Linked DNA regions of Homo sapiens: region 1 is linked to region 2. The links are contacts of gene promoters, found by promoter capture Hi-C in human tissues and cell types (Jung and others, 2019). All regions are on one chromosome and are shown on one strand. Each heading gives the region's core, a stretch centred on a gene start or on the middle of the fragment in contact. The rest is flanking DNA. Distances are from core to core; before and after follow the strand shown.

Region 1 (2,841 bases), core at 181-2,680, 1.2 Mb before region 2:
GAGGGAAGATGAGACTGCAATCTCAGTCCCCTGCCCGGTCCTGCCCCAACCTCGCCAGGGGCTGCCCCATGTTCAGCTCTTCCACAGCTCAGGGGAGCCCAGATTCCTGCACAGGAGCCTCCTCCGCGGAAGGAGGAAGGAAGCAGTTAGGCTCCTAAGGGCCCTTCTGTGCCTGCTCACAAGCTCCAGACACATCCTTCTAAATTCCCTAGAGCGCACTCTCTCTTCTCAGGGAACACAAAGGTCACTCATTCCCAGTGTCAGACTGTGCACAGGGAAGACCCCAGGATATGAGAAAGGGCCATTTCCTTCCGCCGGGATGGGGACGCCCGTGCACCCCTGTTGTGGCGTGGTTTGGGAGCACAGCAAAGGCCAGACTCTACCCTGGAGACTGCAGAGCTGGGGATGAGGCTTTTTCCAGCTCCTCTTGGGGATGTTCCTGGGGATACTTCCGCGGCTGCAGCGCCTGCTTCGGCCCACACTCCGGTAGCCCCCAGGTGTTAGAGAAAACTGCAGTAATAAAGACACCCCTATCCCCATGGCAGAGCTCAGACCTCTGACTGCAGAGAGGCCAGCCTTACCTGTGGGGAGGGAAGAGAAAACAGAAGTGAGGCTCTGAGCTCCTCTAGGGCAGTCAGCTTTGTGTCCTCACCAGCCACAACCCCTCCCCCCACAAAGCCACACGCACCAGCCATAAGCCCCACATCCTGCCTGGCAGAGTGACCTTAATGGACATTGGATTAATAAATGAATGTGCCCCTTCAACAAGGAAGCACACTGCTGTCTTTCGGGGTCACTTTCTTCCCTGGTAAGGTCACGGAACGAATTCTCCATTCTGTGGCCAGAGTCTGGGCTTTCCCTGATGGCCAAAGGCCGGCCTATGGCAGGAACTCTGGAATCCCTGCTGGCTCCCCTTCCCCCAGCCTCCTCCCGACAGGAATTCCAGGCCTATTTCCCATGGGGCTGCGCAGGGCCAGCTGGTGTGACCACGACTCCGTCAGAATCCCCTTCCGCATCGCGGCTGGCCGCGGGTGGCAGAAGCCCCACACCGCCCTTTTGTACTGATGCGTGTCCTCCGTCCACGCTCCCGGGCACACGGGTCCCGTTCTTGCGAGTGAGCCATTTCGGGTCCCACGCACGGCGCAGCTCGCGGAGCCTGTGCGCAGGTGCGCTCCCCCACCCCCGCAGATCCAGCAGCGTCCCCCCCCGCGCACTCACACACGGTCGCGCACACTCACGGTCACGCGCCCCGCAGGTGGAGCGGCCCCCCGCGGGCCCGCGGTGGCCCCGCGCCCCTGCCCCGGCCGTACCTCTGCGGCGGGCTGTGCAGGGACGCGGCGCCCGTCCATGGAGCCCGAAGGCCGGCCTCCGCGGCCCACTCTCGCTCCCCGCCCCGCCGCGGCGACAGCGGCAGGTTCGAGTTCACAACTGCCAGGCCCGTCCCCAACCTCCCCCCGCCGGGTTCCCAGCGCCACGTGACTACAGGAGCTGCCGAGGGTCAGTCGCCGGCTCCCGCGGCCGCGGCCTGGGGGCGGGGAGGGACTGCCGGGGCCGGGGCGCGGGCGCCCCCGCCAAGAGCGGGCCGGGTCACTCAAGCCACTGCCGCGCCAGGGCGGCAGGCCTCGGAGGGTCGGACTCCGTTGCCATGGCGACCACCAGCCCGGGTTTCTCTGGGACTGGCCGGAGCTCAAGTTTCCCGACCCTTTGTCCCTGCGGAGCACGCGCGTCCCCGGGCGACCGCGTGGCTGGCCTATGGTCACCGGGGTGTTCGGCCTTAGCTGCCTTATGAGAGGCTGGGAGCCCGTCGGGAGACTTCAAAGAGGGCTCCGGCAAGCCCCCGGAGCGTCGTTGCCCGGGCCTTTCTCAGGCCGCGCACCCCGGCCGCAGTGCGGACGCTTGCGGCCGCGGCGGTCCCGGGACGGCGGTGGCGCACCTGGAAGGCCCTAGCTTCCGATTTGTTCCAAAGTGGAGCACAAAAAGGCCCGATCCTGCGAACTTTGAAAAGGCCTCTCTTCACTCTTTTCTAGAAATTAAGAAAGAGCAGAAGTTGCTGGGCTTCCTCTGGCTGCGGGCCAAGCGTGGGGCGACGGCCGAGGTGGCCGTTGGCGCACGTGGGGCATTTCGCTTGGAAAGGCTCAGCAGCCTGTGTGGCGTCTGCGGTGGCAGGTGCGAGCCTGTGCCCATGACTCACCCACTAGCAGGTGGCCCTGGCTTTCCAAACTAAACACTTCCTGGGGTTTCCAGGGTAGTACAATTTCATGTACTTTCATGCTTTTCAACACAGGCAATTTTTGAATTGTATAATTAGTCGTAAAAATACTTTTTAAATCTATTGCATAAATAGGAAATAGGGGAACATAAAACTCAGTTTTACCTCGTAGAGTCAATTACATTTAATATTTTGGTATGTTGCCTCCGGTGTTTTCTCTACGTATATCCATGGCATGTCTGGCATAATTGGAATAATGCCTTGCGAAGATGTATTCTGCCTTCTTCACTTAACACGATCTTGTGAATTTTCTTCCATTTTATTAGATATTCTTTTAAACATGATTATTTATGGCTGTATAAAAGGAATATATTTTTTAAATGTTTTCTAAATTATCTTCCAGGAAAACGTATTAGTTTTCCCTGAGAAATGCCCATTTTCCATATACTTGACAACACAGACTTTTTTAAAAAAAAAATTTAGTTTGAAATGGTTATTTCTCATCTTTTGTACTTGCATTTCTTAGAGTACTAGTTAGCTGGATTGTTTTTTCACATGGTTATTTTTTGCCAGTTTTATTTTCTCTTGTGAATTTGTTTATGTCCATTTGCCCACTTTTCTATTTGCCCATT
Region 2 (2,746 bases), core at 19-2,518:
ATACCAGTAAGAGGTGCTGGTGTTTCCATCAAAAGCACCCATTCCTCCATCACAGAGGCTCCACTCCGCCCTAGCCCACAGAAGGGGACAGAGTCCACAGTAGAAGTTAAGAAAGTCCCGGGGCCCAGTTTAGTTTTCTCGGGTTTGAAGCCCTAACCCTGAAAATGATCAAACACAACACAGCAGCCCCTGGCTCCCTCGTTAGCACCTGGCTGAGAGCCGCGTGGTGAGCAGAGGGGCCCCTGAGCAGCCCAGCCCCAGGGTGGGCCCAGAGAGTCTTCCCTGGGCAAGCTTTCAGGCCTCTCTGAGGATCCACCTCCCCTGGTTTTATACCCAATTCTGGAGCACCGGTTCTGCCCACGGAGATCATCGATGGAGCCTGAAGAAATGCCTGGTGCTACTCTCACCCGTCAGAGACCCTGAGCTCTGGGACCAGGCAAGGGCTCAGGAGTCTTAAAAGCTGCCCAGGCCATTCCAACATGCGGCCAAGTTTGTCAACCGCAGGAAAGACCCCGAAGTCATCTCTCCATGGCCCCCTCCCTGGATCACACCCGGTGCAGGGGGAGAGTGAATTACTCATTACACTTGGTGAAAGGTGGTAATCAAACATTTAAAAAATATCCCCGTCAAATTGGCCACCGTGTAAACACGAACGAGGCATTCACTTCTGCGGCCGGGCGGAAGCACTGCCCGCGAAGCTCTCCGCCGGCCGGGCGCAAAGGGAGCCCCAAGCCGGGGCTCAGCCACAGGGTCAGAGCTCTGCCAGGTCCCGGAAAGGACGGTCCCGGCCCCCGCCCCGCGGGGCCTCCGCACTTGGGCCCGGCGACCGCTGCTCCGCGCCGCGCGGGCCAGGCCTGCCCTTCCGGGCCTGCGTCGGGCCCGCTCCGTCCTGCCCGCCGCGCAGCCCGGCCGTGCCCCGCCCGCCTCGGGCCTCGCCTGGGCGCGGAAGCTGGGAGGGCGCCGCAAGGCTACCGGAGGACGGCGCGGCCCGGTCCCGCGGCCCAGCCCGCGCCCCGCCCCCACGGCAGCGCGGCCATGGCGCCGGCGGGGTTCTCCCACCTGCATGGGCGGCATTCCCTCGGCCATTTCCCCGCGCAGCGCCGGCTCCTGGTGGCAGACCTCCTCCGGGGGCAGAGCCTGGGCCCAGCTCCAGCTCCCGCTGTCCAGCCCCAGGCCCTGGATGCCCAGCTGCTGAGGCTGCGGCCGTGTTGACACAAACTGCATCCTGGGAGTGCTGTTCCCCGCTCGGGTCGGCCAGGGAGAAGAAGAACGTTTTCCAGGCGCCTTCCCCCTCTCCGGGGCCGGACAGCTCCATCTACAGCCCGTAGGAGCAAACAGTCCCCTTCGGCGGCGCTCCCCGCCCCTTGGCAGCCCGCGCGCCAGCCAATGGCCTCGGAGCTCCTGCCCGCCTGCGGGGACCTACCGGGGCCACTCCCGGACTGGGGTCGCCACCGCCCCAAAACTGAGAGGCGGCGGCCTCGCCCAGGGGTCAGGCCCCCTCAATCTGGGATGGCCGACTTTAAAGGCCCAAACTATGCGAGGACCTGGACTGTGGGCTTGATTACTGTTAATTCTGCAAATGTATTGGGCATCCCGGGAGAAAATAGTGCCTGACCCTTGTGAAAATTTTGCAGGAGTAATTCTGTCTTCAGACACTTTCTTCTGGCCTTCTGCCTTCCCTCACTCCTTTGCAGACTTTACCTCCCACTCCCCTTCTTCCCAATCCAGATTTACCTGGACCCATCCCAGAGCTTTTGCACTGTTATGGATGATAGAGAAGTGATTCATGTTAAGGTGTCAAAAGAGGGCTGAGCTCTTTCTCCCAGGTAAGGTGCAGTGCATTTTAACAGTGGCCTCTTCAAACACCTTGAAATTGGGTTGGGCGTGGTGCCTCACACCTGTAATCTCAGCACTCTGAGAGGCTGAAGCAGGAGAACGACTTGAGCCCAGGAGTTCGAGACCAGACTGAGCAACATATTGACACCCCATCCCTATAAAAAATAAAAATTAGCCGAGCGCGGTGGCTCACATCTGTAATCCCAGCACATTGGGAGGCTGAGGCAGGCGGATCACCTGAGGTCAGGAGTTCGAGACCAGCCTGGCCAACATGGTGAAACCCCGTCTCTACTAAAAATACAAAAAGATTAGCCGGGCGTGGTGGCGTGGGCCTATAATCCTAGCTACTCGGGAGGCTGAGGCAGGAGAATCGCTTCAACCTCCGAAGCGGAGGTTGCAGTGAGCCAAGATCGCGCCAGTGCGCTCCAGCCTGGGCAACAGAGCGAGACTCCATCTCAAAAAATAATAATAAGGCCGGGCGCCGTGGCTCACGCCTGTAATCCCAGCACTTTGGGAGGCCAAGACGGGCGGATCACGAGGTCAGGAGATCGAGACCATCCTGGCTAACACGGTGAAACCCCGTCTCTACTAAAAATACAAAAAAATTAGCCGGGTGTGGTGGCGGCGCCTGTAGTCCCAGCTACTCGGGAGGCTGAGGCAGGAGAATGGCGTGAACCCGGGAGGCGGAGCTTGCAGTGAGCCGAGATCGCGCCACTGCACTCTAGCCTGGGCAACAGAGCAAGACTCCGTCTCAAAAAAAAATAATAATAATAATAATAAAATAAAAAATAAAAATTACCCGGGCATGATGGCTAATGCCTGTACTCCTAGTTACTCAGGAGGCTAAGGCTGTAGGATTGCTTGAACTCAGGAGTTGGAGGTTGCAGTGAGCTGTGATTGTGCCGTTGTG

Evidence for each region. The method cuts DNA at HindIII sites, captures the fragments that hold promoters and counts their contacts. A contact is called where the count stands out against the background at its distance.
Region 1: the fragment with the promoter of REPIN1 here is called in contact with the fragment with the promoter of ZNF282 in region 2 in 1 of the 25 tissues and cell types used here (aorta).

What each region holds. Positions count from the first base shown.
Region 1 is chr7:150,367,411-150,370,251 of GRCh38, reverse strand. REPIN1 (replication initiator 1) reads right to left here and starts at 1,430. Exons shown (of 3, transcript NM_001099695.2): 1 at 1,311-1,430; 2 at 384-581. The coding sequence starts at 540. The region is part of intron 3 of REPIN1-AS1 (REPIN1 antisense RNA 1); the gene reads left to right. RefSeq lists enhancers at 1-246, 247-1,052, 1,053-1,857, 1,897-1,956 and silencers at 517-666, 1,177-1,646. The HindIII fragment of the contact is 15,434 bases long and covers 1-2,841 here.
Region 2 is chr7:149,194,068-149,196,813 of GRCh38, reverse strand. It overlaps ZNF282 (zinc finger protein 282), which reads right to left and starts at 1,268. Exons shown (of 8, transcript NM_003575.4): 1 at 1,060-1,268. The coding sequence starts at 1,224. RefSeq lists an enhancer at 201-250 and silencers at 691-1,050, 1,171-1,492, 1,311-1,600. The HindIII fragment of the contact is 19,438 bases long and covers 1-2,746 here.